Linked DNA regions of Homo sapiens: all the other regions are linked to region 1. Evidence: promoter capture Hi-C in human tissues and cell types (Jung and others, 2019). All regions are on one chromosome and are shown on one strand. The core of a region is centred on a gene start or on the middle of the fragment in contact, and the rest is flanking DNA. Distances in the headings are between cores, read along the strand shown.

Region 1 (2,706 bases), core at 58-2,557:
GTCCCTTTCCATCTGTAAGGACAAAGGCAAAACCCTGCCTCCCTTGGCATCCTCATCAGTCCGCACACAGGTGCCACAGAGGCTCCCCACTCCCTTGCTCAAGTCTCCTTTCTCTCACTTGCGCAGACACACACATACACACAGAGACACATGGGCACATACACACACACAGACACACGAGACAAACACAGACACACGCACACACAGACACACATAGAAACACACACAGATACACAGACACACACAAACACACAGGCACAGAGAAACACACACACAGACACACACAACGACATACACAGATCATACACAGGCACACAGACACACACAGATGCACACACAGACACACTGACATAGACACACACAGATATACAAAGACACACGGATACAGACACACACAGACACATGCAAACACACACACAGACCCAGAAATACACAGACACACACACACAGACACACGCAGACCATACACACACACAGAGACACACACACACAGACATAAAGATGCACGCAGACCATACATAGACACAGAGACAGACACACACTCAGACACAAAGAGACACAGACCTGCGCAGACACACACAGGCACATGCGTGCACACACAGATACACACAGAGACACACACAGATGCATACATGCACACATGCAGACCATACACACAGACAGACACAGACACAAAGACACACGCAGACCATACACAGACACAGACACACAGACACACACACACAGACATGCACAGACACACACAGAGACAGACACAGACATGCACGCACAAACACCCACATGGACGCATACGTGCACACACACAGACACACACAGGCCATACACACACACACAGAGACACGGAGACACACAGACACACACACAGATACACAGAGACACACAAAGACACAGACACACACTGAGACACACACAGACACACAGACACACAGAGACACAAATACAGACATACACAGATACACACACACACAGACATATGCAGGCACATCGACATACACACAGACACACAGAGAAACAGACACATGCAGACTATACACACACAGACACACACAGAAACACACAGAGGCAGACCACACACACACAGACACACACACACCACCGCATGATTGGGCATCACGGGCTTTCATGGAGTGAGGGGAGGCTGGGGTGGGGGTCTTCATCCTTTCTCTACCTTGCCCTCCTTCCCAACCTCCGCATACGTCTCCATCGCTCTCCTGGGCTTCAGCGTCCGGCCACTGCCCGCGTGCTCCCGCAGGTCGTCCCCGTAACTCGCCCGAGGAACTGACCGAGTGAGGATGCTCTCAGCTGACGGGGACGCTCTCCCCCGCCCGGCCAAGGAGTCGCCTGGAGTCGGGGGCGGTTCCCACCGCGTTTCCCTCAGCCACGCCTTTCGATTGGGTAGCGGGGCACCGCGCGTGACGCCATTGGCTGCATTGTCTGTCGTTCCTGTCCCAGGCCCCAGCTTTTAAGGGACACGCGGCACGGAGAGTGGGCCGGTGATAGGCGACAGTGTGGGAGCTGGGGTCAGAGTTCATAGGGTCGCAGAGGCCGCGTGCCGCGTCTCCCTCCAGTCCCCGGGGGACTGACCCCCACAACAACCCCGTGCCGCCGTTCCGGGCCCCTCCTTCCAACGGCCACGTGCGGCCTGCGCGTGCGCACTCGCCCAGTTTGGCGCCCACCAGGCAGTGGGGAAGGGGAAGGGGAAGGGGAAGAGGGTGAGGGTGGCAGGGTGGGGACAGGGAATGGGAAGCAGTGGTGGGGATGTGGGTGGTGGACCAGGGGCGAGGGCAGGGGACAATGTCTGTGGAGAAGGGGGGTCTGTTTAGGTTTCCGCTCTTGGACGGGAGGGAGCGGCGGGGTAAGCAGCCTAGGAGGACTAGGGAGCTCCACAAGTCCCGCGGCCAGGGCGCCCCAAGCGAGGCCGGGGTCCGCGAACGGTCGCCACTGGAGCGGGGCTGCAAGGGGGTGCCGATGCTGCGAGAGAAAACCTGGGGACCTTGGAACGGGCTCATGGTAATTGGGAAGAGAGTGGAGCTCCTGACTAGAAACACTCGAAAGCCGAAGCTGGAGTCTGAGTACTGGAGACTGGAAGATGTGGAAAAGACGGTCTTGAAAGGGAAGTCAGGCCCGAGTCAGGAAAGGATGGATGTGAAGCTGCTATACCGTGGAGCAAGTGCATCACAAGCTTCAGCAGATTTGGGGAAAGACAGCCCAAGGGGTATTTGGGGAAAGCAAGAGGTCAAACACGAAATAAAGGCTAAATCTAAGAGTGCAGGGATGACAGCAGGGCCTATGAAGGGGTCTGGGTTTGAAGAGAGGTTGAGGTCTGCTGGGGAGAAGGTAGGGACCAGTGGAGAGGACTTGAGATCCAATGGATATAAACTGGGACAGGATGAGAAGGGGTTGAGGTCTAGTGTAGACAAGATGAGATCAAGTGTAGAGAAGCTGAGGTCTACTAGTGAGAAGCTGGTGTGCAGGGGAGAGAAGCAGGGGTCCAGTGGAGTGAAGCTGAGGTCCAGTGGCAGAAAGCTGAGATCAAGTGGAGAGAATTTGAGATCAAGTAGAGAGAAGCTGAGATGGAGTGGAGAGAAGCTGGGAACTAGTGGAGAGAAGCTGGGAACCAGTGATGAGAAGCTGAGGTTGAGTGGAGAGATGCTGAGATCAATCAGAGAGAAGCTGAGGTTGAGTGGAGAGAAGCTGGGAACCAGT
Region 2 (2,706 bases), core at 80-2,579, 240 kb after region 1:
GCCTGTAGCCCCAGCTACTTGGGAGGCTGAGGCAGGAGAATAGCTTGAACCCGGGCGGCGAAGGTTGAGTGAGCCGAGATTGCACCACTGCACTCCAGCCTGGGCGACAGAGCGAGACTCCATCTCAAAAAAAAGAGTAGTAAGTTCCACCCACCTCCCAGTATGGTGACTTGCCATGGCATCTGGCACCCCTGACAGTTCTCTTCACACTGCCATGGGGGCTCTGGCACTCCCACACCATACCCTAGGGCAGGGTCCCTCCCTCGGCCTCTGTCCATTCTCTTCACACTGCCATGGGGGCTCTGGCACTCCCACACCATACCCTAGGGCTGGGTCCCTTCCTTGGCCTCTGTCCTCAGCCCCTCTGACGTTAGAGGAGTTGGAACCCAGGCTCCCCCTTCCCCTCTCCCAGGTGCCCCATGGCAGCCCAGACTCTGTGTCTGCAGTTCAGGGGCAGGGAGTCAGGAGGGCAGGCACAAAGCGTTCTCAGGAAGAACTGGCAATCGGGCGCAAGGGTATCATCTGCCCGGGTGCTCTGGGCACCCTGGAGTCCTCTCCCCACCTCCCACCCCCACCTGATCCTTCCCAGCTGCCACCATTCCTCTCCCACCACACCACCCAGGCCAAAATCACTCCATCCATGACGCCTACAGTAGCCCAGCGTAGGTCTCCCTGGACCACATTTATCCTCAAGGGCCTGTGTCCTTATCCCCCCTTCACCCCCAACTCTCCCCTGCCACAGCCAGCCCTCTGTTCCTCTCACACCCCAAGCTCATTCCTACCTTCACTGGCCTCTTACTCCCCAGCTGAAATATCACCTCCTTAGCAGAGCTTTCCCAGTGAGATAACCCCCCCGCTCCCCGCAGAGCTCTCCCATCACCCAGGGTGTTTCCTTCATGGAACTCATGACAATGTGAGGTTGCCATGTTTCTTTGCTAAGAGGTTTCTTGTGTAAACACCAGGAAGGAAAGGACCTGTGCCTGTCCTCTTCCCTAAGCACTTGAATGAATGAATGAATGAATGAATGTGGTATGGGTGCCTGAGTGAGCAGGACCTTGAATAAGTGTGAGGTCCTCTCTAGGCTTCAGCTTCCTCCGCCTCCTCCCCTCACCGCAGCCGCCTTCCTCCACCCATCCCCACCATCCCAGCTGCTGTGAAATGGGCAAATGTCTTGCCTCCAGGACCTGGGAAGGGTGATGCAGCTCACCTCCCTCCTGTTCACACCCCAGCCACCCCAGCCATCCCAGCCGGGTCCCAGCCACCCACACAGCACCTCCTCCTGGCCCCGCCCTGCCCAGCCCCTCCCAGGTGCCTGAGGTGGAGCCGCCAGTTCCCACAGCACCCCAGCGGCCTGCCATGGGGGGTCTAAGGCCCTGGTCCCGATACGGGCTCCTGGTTGTGGCCCACTTGCTGGCCCTGGGGCTTGGGGCTGTGGTGTTCCAGGCCCTGGAGGGGCCTCCTGCATGCAGGCTTCAGGCTGAGCTCAGGGCAGAGCTGGCAGCCTTCCAGGCAGAGCATAGGGCCTGCCTGCCACCCGGAGCTCTGGAAGAGCTGCTGGGCACTGCCCTGGCCACCCAGGCCCATGGGGTCTCCACCCTGGGCAACAGCTCAGAGGGCAGGACCTGGGACCTTCCCTCAGCCCTGCTCTTCGCTGCCAGCATCCTCACCACCACAGGTAAGAGAGCCAGGCAGCCAAGTCGGGGGGTGCGGCTCCAAGAGGCCATGGCTCCCTGGGGGCTTTGGGGTTCATGCAGCCCTTCCTTCAGCCCCAAAGAGCCAGATGGAGCCCAGGCCCTGTGAGGCCTGACATCACAGCTGGGGCTCCCCACCAACACACCCCAACTGGTGCCTCCACTTCAACTGCCAGGAAGGGTGTGGCCTCCCCAGTCCCACCCCAGGCACCCTTTGAGACCCAGGAGAGCTGCCCAGATGCCACAGCCTGTGGCCAGATAGGGGATACAATACAGTGGGATGGATTCTTGGATGGAAGCAAATAGAATGAACCTGGGAAGGACAGATCAGGACCATGGCCTCGGGTGGGGGAGTGAGGGAAGATAGGGGAGGAAGTCGGCATGAGATGCTTGTGGATCAGGAGGGCACAGACAGGGATGAGGGAGTCCTGCAGAGAAATCGCGTGGGCACAGGCCCAGGGAAAAGCAGCAATGAGACCCACAGCCCTGGGTTTTCGTATTTTTTGCCCCACAAAGTGTCTCAGTATTTTTTGAATTGGAATTTGTATTTCCAACTTTTTTTTTTTTTGAAACGGTGTCTGACCCTGTCACCCAGGCTGGGGTGCGGTGGTGCGATCTTGGCTCACTGCAACCTCCACCTCCCGGGTTCTAGCAATTCTCCTGCCTCAGCCTCCTGAGTAGCTGGGACTACAGGCATGCACCACCATGCCCGGCTAATTTTTGTGTTTTTAGTAGAGACGGGGTTTTGCCATGTTGGCCAGGCTGTTCTCAAACTCCTGACCTCAAGTGATCCACCTGCCTCAGCCTCCCAAAGTGTTGGGATTACAGGTGTGAGCCACTGTGCCCAGCTCATATTTCCAACTTCTTTTGGAAAATCAGGAAACCCACTCACACTGAGCCAGAATCCCTGCAAGGCAACATCCTGACTGGAGCAGAATGGGGCCTGCCCTTTGGATACAGCTCACACTTTCCAGTGTACCCCTGTCCCCACCACTCCTGTTTGTCTCCCATCTGG
Region 3 (2,706 bases), core at 108-2,607, 220 kb before region 1:
GGCCCACTGGAGCAGCTACTAAGAGACGGGAAAAAGAAATCCAATGTCAGAAGAGGCAAAACACTCACGTAAAAAATTACCTCTCTTGCTGAAAGGGTGATGGTAAACCTGCAGGGGAGGAGGGCACGTGGCGTGGCTTTTGGAATGCTGGTAATGTTTTGGATCATGGTCCAGGTGCTGGTTGTACAGGTGTGTTCAGTGTGTAAAAAACCATTAAACTATATATTTACTATATATGCCCTTTTTAAATGTGATAGATACCTTAAAAGTCTTTTTAAAAATGTCTAAATCACCTTCCTTGCCCTTCCCCTCGGTTCCAGGGTCTCACCTCGAGGACCCAGAGGAGTGCGCACACCAATCTGGCCCATGTCTTGTGGGGGCCGAGGGACTGGGGTGCCCATCTTGGCAATCTCCTGCTGTCGTTCCTGCTCCAGTAACACAGCTGCCTACGGGAGGGAAGTGGGAGTAGATACTGCCTGAAAACGCATTTGGCAGGCAGCCCCTGGCAAATGCATTCTTTCAGCCGGGTAATGGGCCCAAGGAGAACAATCACGAACCACTTGGGTGCTGACATCCCCTCCACCCCCACACTTCCAGGCTACTAATCCAAACGGAGGAGCCCTCTCATCACAACGGAAAATCCCTAGAAATAACACCAAGGAAAACCCCAGGAAACTTCTGGTTCCTAGCAGAGAATTTCATATTGAGCCAAACAGTGCCTTCTACTTTTCAGAGAGTTTTCTTCCCCAAAAGATTAAATTATACAGAAGAAACTTTTGAGCTCTTTTCTTATATCCACCCCTCAAGATCCAGCACAATCTGGGCAAAGACAGTACTTTACCCACAGGTCCAGACTTGTGGCTTTTTTTTTTTTTTTTTTTTTTGAGACAGAGTCTGGCTCTGTTGCCTAGGCTGGAGTACAGTGGCATGATCTCAGCTCACTGCAACCTCGGCCTCCCCAGCTCAAGCCATCCTCCCACCTCAGCCTCCCAAGTAGCTGGGACTACAGGCATGCGCCGCCACACCTGGCTAATTTTTGTATTTCTGAGAGACAGGGTTTCATTATGTTGGCCAGGCTGGTCTCGAACTCCTGAGCTCAAGCGATCCACCCACCTCAGCCTCCCAAAGTGCTAGGATTACAGGTGTGAGCCACGGCACCCAGCTCATACTTGTTGCTTTTTAACACTTACTTTTTAATACTCCTGAGTAACCCACTGGGTAATGACTGATGCAATGCACCTCTGGGGCCAAACATCTTATATAACATTCCCAGACTTACAGTCCTATTCTGTCTAAATCCAATACAAATAACTCAATTACCCAGAGTCCTATCTAGAATGATGTCATGTAAGGCGAGCAGAGGTCAGCAGGCTCTTTTTATAATAGGTCAGAAGGTAAATATTTTAGGCTTTATGGGTTGCTGTACAGACTCTGGTACATATTTTTGGTTTGGGTTTTCTTATAACCCTTAAAAAATTTTAAAGTTATTTTTAGCTCATAGGCCATACACATGCAGGCCACAGGTCATAGTTTGTCAATTCCTGAACTTCAAGAAAAATTGAAAGCTTTGGAAGATACTAGAACTTAGTTGAGAACAAAGTAGCCTCCAGGGAAAACTTGAATGGTGCACTCTAAGCACTATAAATGACAGCCAACTGACTGGACCACGAGGTCAAAGGTTAGGGGGAGGGGTATTACCCGCTTCTGCTGCTCCAAGAGCTCATGTTCCTTCAGCGAATGATCTCCCTGCTTAAAAAAGAAAACAAGTTCATACCAGCACCAATACCCAACACGCCAATCTGCCACAACTCTTGCTTCTTGAGATCCTCTTCCAGTCAAGGGCCCATGTTCCAATCTTTAGTCCCGACCTTCCCAGAAGCCTTAGTTCTAGGACCCAGCTTTCTCTAAGGCTCCACTGCCCCTTCAGGGACCTAATGAGTCCAAGGCCAGGGCTGCCACCTGCCCTACCTGCTTGGCACGCTCCTCCTGCTGCATCAGCAATGCCGCCTGCTGCTGAGCCAACTTCAGCCGCTCCTCCTCTGACAGTGCCACTGGCTCACCCACACGGAGAGGAGGCGGGGGCCCCAAATTTGGTGGGTGGGCCATAGGAAAGCCAAGGCCAAGGCCTGGTGGAGGTGGTGGGGGTGGCGGAGGAGGCTGCAGAGGGGGGAGTCCCAAAGGTGGTGGTGGCATGGGAATTCCAGGGAGCTGTGGAGAAAATATGATCATAAAACTAGGAAGCATTTATCTACTCATTCTGCAAATATCTGGGGGATCTACTTTGAGTCAGGAGCTGGAATTCTAAGTCAAATGATACATAGTTACCACTCCATAAGAGAGAATGCTCCACAGCTCTATAAAGATATGAGAATGTTAACTTCTGGCACCAACCAAAGGAAGCTATCCACTCTCTCCAAAAAGATATCCTGAATATAGATTCTGCATACAATTCTAGGAGACTCAAAGACGCCTCTGAGGCCATCTAGGGACTCCTCATCCTACACACAGAGATCAGTAGATGCCAGGTCAGAGCCACTGCTTTAGAGAAAATGAGGCAAATCCTGGATCAGAAGGAACATGGAAATTGAGAGGACTTACATAAACAGGAACCACTGTATCTGGGCAATGCAAACCCCAATGACTACTAAACGCAAGGGGTGTGAAATCAAATCAGGGAGCCCTCGATGTCACACAAAAGAACATGGG
Region 4 (2,706 bases), core at 131-2,630, 200 kb before region 1:
GTGCAGTGGCTCATGCCTGTAATCCCAGCACTTTGGGAGGCCAAGTGGGGGTGGATCACTTGAAATCAGGAATTTGAGACCAGCCTGGCCAACATGGTGAAACCCCATCTCTACTAAAATACAAAATTAGCTGGGTGTGGTTGTGCATGCCTGTAATCCCAGCTACTCAGGAGGCTAAGGCAGGAGAATGCCTTGAACCCAGGAAGCAGAGGTTGCAGACAGCCGAGATTGTGCCACTGCACTCCAGCCTGGGTGACAGAGAGAGACTCCATCCAAAAATAAAAGCTGCAAATGCCACTGAGAGAAGGCACGTTAATAAGAACAATGCTACTAACTTTTACTGAGCACTTACTCTATTAGGCTGTTTTTGCATTGCTATGAAGAAATACGTGAGTCTGGGTAATTAAAGAAAACAGGTTTGATTGGGGCTGGGCACAGTGGCTCATGCCTGTAATCCCAGCACTTTGGGAGGCTGAGGCGGGTGGATCACGAGGTCAGGAGATCAAGACCATCCTGGCTAACACAGTGAAACCCCGTCTCTATTAAAAATACAAAAAAATTAGCCAGGCATGGTGGCAGGCACCTGTAGTCCCAGCTACTCGGGAGGCTGAGGCAGGAGAATGCCGTGAACCCAGGAGGTGGAGCTTGCAGTGAGCTGAGATCAGCCACTGCACTCCAGCCTGGGCTACAAAGTGGAAAAGAAAAAGAAAAGAAAAGAAAATAGTTTTGATTGGCTCCCAGTTCTGCAGGCTGTACAGGCATGGTGCTGACATCTGCTCGGCTTCTGAGGAGGCCTCAGTAAGCTTACAATTGTGTGAAAGGTGAAGTGGAAGCAAGCATATCACATGCCAGAAGCAGGAACAAGGTCAATGCCCTCTGAGGGGAGGTGCCACACACTTTCAAACAACCAGATCACTGTGAACTCAGAGCAAGAACTCGCCGATCACCAAGGGGATGGCACCAAGCCATTAATGAGGGATCTACCCCATGATCCAAACATCTCCCACCAGGCCCCACCTCCAGCACTGGAGATCACATTTCAACATGAGATCTGGGCGGGTGGGGGGGACACACAGCCAAACCATATCACTTACTATATGCTAGGTCAGTGGTCCCCAATGTTTTTGGCACCAGGGACTGGCTTTGTGGAAGAGAATTTGTCCGTGGTGTGAGGGGTTAAGGGGGATGGTTTTGGGATGAAACTGTTCCACCTCAGATCATCAGGCATTAGATTTTCATAAGGAGTGCACAACCTAAATCCCCCGCACATGCAGTTCACAATAGGGGGTTCACACTCCTAAGAGAATCTAATGGTGATCTGACAGGAGGCAGAGCTCAGGTGGTAACGTCCATGGCCTGGGGGTTGGGGACCCCTGTGCTAGGTGCTCTTCTCTACACTTTATGTATTTTAACTTACTCGATTTTTTTTTTTTTTTTGAGATGGAGTTGCGCTCTATCGCCCAGGTTGGAGTACAGTGGCATGATCTCGGCTCACTGCAACTTCTGCCGCTCAGGTTCAAGTGATTCTCCTGCCTGAGCCTCCCGAATAGCTGGGATTACAGGCACCCACCACCACACCTGGCTAATTTTTGCATTTTTAATGGACACAGGGTTTCACCATATTGGCCAGGCTGGTCTCAAACTCCTGGCCTCAAGCGATCCACCTGCCTTGGACCCTCAAAGTGCTGGGATTACAGGCATGAGCCACCAGGCCCAGCCAACTTACTTGATTTTTACAACACCCTAAGAGGTAGCTGTTACTCTTCTCTCCCTCTTTTATTTATTTTAGAGACAGGGTCTCACTTGTCACACAAGTCTCAGCTACTCGGAGGGGGCAGTGGTGCAATCGTGACTCACTGCAGCCGTAAACTCCCAGGCTCAAGCAATCCTCCCTCAGACTCCTGAGTAGCTGGGATTATAGGCAGGTACCACTAAACACCCAGCTATATCCCCTCTTGTAGAAGAGGAAACTGAGATACAAAAAGTTGAAGTGCCCAGGCTCATACAGCCGGGAGAAGCTGAGCTAGGACAGAAACCAGACTGCTCAGGCTCCAAAGCCCAGGTCCTCCCACCATAATACATTACCCGACCCCGTGAAACACCCTCCCAGCCATCCCTGCAGGCTCCTTATTAAACAGCCTCATTATAAAAGCCTCCTGGGAGCAGGTTTGAGTGGGAGGGAGAGGCAGAGAGCCCAAGTTCTTTGGGAGCCCAAGGTGAGGTGAGGCAAAGAGAGAGAAGCTGGTGCTCTGCCAACACAACCGGGCAGCTTCCCAGAATGGGCCAGAGGCGTGCAGAGGGGCTGTGGGGCAGAGGTGCCTGAAGAAAGGGGCTAGACAGTCAGTCCCAGCCAGAGAAGGGCATGGAGAAGAGGAAGGGGAGCCCCTCTCTCAACCTCATAGATTCTAGATTAGCTCCTCTGGCCCAGCAGGGCTACAGAAATCTGAGGATCCCTGCCAGCCAATCCTCTTCTCCCCAGCAAGAGTTTCCCTGGTGCCCTCCAGTGGGCAAAGGACAGGACAGGATCACCCTCTGCCACCCCCATCCTCCACCTTCATCCCAATCTCATGGGATTGCTACAACGCAACAGAGGGCGAAGGAGTCAGGCTCTCATACTCCATTACAAATGGGAAGACTCAGCCCGGGCATGGTGGCTCACGCCTGTAATCCCAGAACTTTGGGAGGCCGAGGCAGGTGGATCACTTC
Region 5 (2,706 bases), core at 58-2,557, 180 kb before region 1:
GTGGAGGGAATATGGGGGAGAAGGAGGGGTGAGCCCAGCCTCGACCTGTCTCCTCCCAACAGCCAGCCCTCTGCCTGCCAGGCTGCTCCAGGCCAAGAGAGGGACAATCACTGACCCAACGGATGTCAAGCCGCATGTCTGGGGCTAGACTCCAGATCTTGGTAGCCAACTTCCCCATTCCCGAGGGAAGCCCCAGCTTCCTTTCTGCACCCCATCTTGGCCCAGAGGCTGACTCATCCAGAAGGACGACAGGTTCAGCCAGACATCTAGACATCTACGTGTCCAGCCAAACCAGTTCAGGATGGACAACCTGAGTGCCTGAGGCTCTGGGGAGGGCTGGGGCTGGAGGAGCCCAGCTGTTACCTCCTGCTGCGCCCCTGCTGCCAGGGGGCAAGTGGTGAGGTCGACGTGGTCTCCAGTGACCCTGGTCTTGCGGCAGTCTGTGCTCCCCATCTCCATCGTCAGGAAGTACTTGATGCCGGCCACCAGCTGGGGGCATAGGGTAGGGGCAGGTCAGGGGTCTTGACCCTTGATCCTCACTTCTCACCTCTTGATATATTCTCCTGTTGCCCCCAGGCACTCAGGTGGGGAGAGAGGGAGAGGGGATGATTCAGACGGGGTGGGGGGGGGTGGGGGGGGGTGGGGGGGGGAGTTCTGGTGGGGATGGAGGGTGGAGAGGCCTGGAGGCTGAGCCCCACCAGCAGCCTTGGCAGACATCAGACATGCCCCATCTAGGGAGCTGCCCACTGTCCCCACCTGCCTTCCCTCCTCCCCGATCCACCCCATCAGGGCAGAGACTAGGACCAGGCAAGCCAGGAAGGCAGGTAGTGCAATACAGGGTTTAATTATGTCTTTCCTTGAAATTTAGATGGTTGTCCATCGTGGAGTTTTAGCATTAATTCGATTTTTAAAATATTGCATGAAAATATCCCGATTGCGCTTTTAGGCCCCCTTCATGCACGCTGGGGCAGCGCCTGTGGCCTCCCCCATCTGGGCCGGGTGTCCCCTCCCAGCACCCCGCCCGCCGCACCTGGCTCTGCGCCTTGATGATGTGCGTGTCTCGGAAGTAGTAGATGCTGTTGCTGCCCATGTTGTAGCTGGCCACGGCCGCCTGCGCCGCCTTCTGCACCTGCGGGTCGTCGGGCGACAGGTCCCGGAGTTCTCCGACCATGCGCTCCTGCGGCCGGGCCCGGGCGTCGCGTGGCAGCGCCAGGAGGCAGAATGCGACCAGGGCCAGGCCCAGCGCCAGCGGGAGGTTCGAACGCGCCATGGCCGTCAGTGCCGTCGGAGCCCTCAGAGCCGTGAGTGCCGAGCTTGCGGCCGCGCAGCTTTTACCCGCTGGGCCGCCCCGCCCGACGCCCGCGATGCGCCCCCGCGGCCTGGAGCTGGGGCGGGGCTCGAAGTTGCCGGGGTCCTGCGAGGTTCAGGGAGCCCAGGAGGCCGAGGGGGCGGCGCGCACCCGCGTGCCAAGACGCTTCCCTGCCCTCCAGGACACACCTGGCCCGGGGAGGGAGAGGACAGCGACAGTCCCCAGCAACAAGTGCCAGTACAGGGACGGTTCACGGGAGGGCTGTCCAGAATGAACTACCAACCGCAGCTCTTCGTGGGCTCTTACTGTTGCCACCATTTCCTAGCTGTGTAACCTCGGAGAAGTCACTTAACCACTCGCTGCCTCAGTTTCCTCTTCTGTACAATGGGTGTTGTGAGGATTCAGTGAGCTGAAACAGGTAAAGTTCTTAGAAGAGGTCTGGTGCTGGATAAACAGCAGGTGAGTAGGACACATTACTGCTCAGCGCTGCCTGACAACCTTCCTGGAGCGCGAGTGACTAATGTTTCTACCTGGCCAGGCACCTAGGCATGCTTGTAATTCCAGCACTTTGAGAGGCCAAGGTGGGAGGACCACTTGAGCCAAGGAGTTCAAGTCAGTGAATCGTGATCTCACCACTGCAGCATTCCAGCCTGGGCGACAGAGCTAGACGCTGACTCAAAAAAAAAAAAAAAAAAAAAAAAAAAAAAGAAGGCCGGGCATGAGGGCTCACACTTGTAATCCCAGCACTTTGGGAGGCCGAGGCAGGCAGATCACTTGAGGTCAGGAGTTCAAGACCAGCCTGGCCAACATGGTGAAACCCCGTCTCTACCAAAAATACAAAAATTAGCCAGGCGTGGTGGCACACACCTGAATTCCCAGCTACTCAGAAGGCTGAGGCAGGGGAATTGCTTGAACCTGGGAGGCAGAGGTTGCAGTGAGCCAAAATGGCACCACTGCGCTCTAGCCTGGGTGACAGAGAGAGACTCTGTCTCACAAAAAAAAAAAAGAAAAAAGAAAAAAAATAGTTTCCACTTTACAGAGAAGGGAAAATGGATTTGCCCAAAGACACCGGCAGGAAATAAATGGTGACACTGGCTTGTGTGTGCTGACAGTCTAAGTCAAATCTGTGGTCTTAAACCAGACTGAGCCCACAGGACACAAACTGCCCAGAAGGAGGGGGTGTCAGTCATGTCAGCTCTGCCATCTTACTGACGGCATGGCTTTGGGCAAGTCCCTCAACCTCCCACACAGAGCCTCCGTGCCCTCGTCTGAAAGACACCTTATCTCCTAAGTTTGTTCTGATATTGATGTTTCGAATCTGGCTGTCCCGTGGATACAGTGAGCATGTGCTGGAGGTACCAGCAAACAAGGCCCATGACTGTGTTTTTAAAGACTCC

The links. The method cuts DNA at HindIII sites, captures the fragments that hold promoters and counts their contacts. A contact is called where the count stands out against the background at its distance.
Region 2: a contact is called between the fragment with the promoter of KCNK7 here and the fragment with the promoter of SNX32 in region 1, in 11 of the 25 tissues and cell types used here (H1 embryonic stem cells, IMR-90 fibroblasts, bladder and 8 more).
Region 3: a fragment that was not itself captured here is called in contact with the fragment with the promoter of SNX32 in region 1 in 1 of the 25 tissues and cell types used here (spleen).
Region 4: a fragment that was not itself captured here is called in contact with the fragment with the promoter of SNX32 in region 1 in 1 of the 25 tissues and cell types used here (spleen).
Region 5: a contact is called between the fragment with the promoter of CST6 here and the fragment with the promoter of SNX32 in region 1, in 1 of the 25 tissues and cell types used here (mesenchymal stem cells).

The regions. Positions count from the first base shown.
Region 1 is chr11:65,832,564-65,835,269 of GRCh38, reverse strand. SNX32 (sorting nexin 32) reads right to left here and starts at 1,307. Exons shown (of 13, transcript NM_152760.3): 1 at 1,169-1,307. The coding sequence starts at 1,204. LOC124902693 reads left to right here and starts at 1,471. Exons shown (of 7, transcript XM_047427980.1): 1 at 1,471-2,706. The coding sequence starts at 1,759. RefSeq lists an enhancer at 1,226-1,315 and silencers at 1,240-1,452, 1,626-1,755. The HindIII fragment of the contact is 13,089 bases long and covers 1-2,706 here.
Region 2 is chr11:65,594,423-65,597,128 of GRCh38, reverse strand. KCNK7 (potassium two pore domain channel subfamily K member 7) reads left to right here and starts at 1,329. Exons shown (of 3, transcript NM_033347.2): 1 at 1,329-1,675. The coding sequence starts at 1,357. The HindIII fragment of the contact is 18,543 bases long and covers 1-2,706 here.
Region 3 is chr11:66,054,578-66,057,283 of GRCh38, reverse strand. It overlaps SF3B2 (splicing factor 3b subunit 2), which reads right to left. Exons shown (of 22, transcript NM_006842.3): 4 at 1,969-2,208; 5 at 1,699-1,749; 6 at 329-446; 7 at 1-18. Among named protein-coding and RNA genes, the nearest start is that of SNORD13F, 2.8 kb to the right of the region's middle. The HindIII fragment of the contact is 4,123 bases long and covers 1-2,706 here.
Region 4 is chr11:66,035,648-66,038,353 of GRCh38, reverse strand. No RefSeq gene overlaps it. Among named protein-coding and RNA genes, the nearest start is that of CATSPER1, 11 kb to the right of the region's middle. The HindIII fragment of the contact is 7,933 bases long and covers 1-2,706 here.
Region 5 is chr11:66,010,609-66,013,314 of GRCh38, reverse strand. CST6 (cystatin E/M) reads right to left here and starts at 1,307. Exons shown (of 3, transcript NM_001323.4): 1 at 1,031-1,307; 2 at 364-489. The coding sequence starts at 1,270. The HindIII fragment of the contact is 16,997 bases long and covers 1-2,706 here.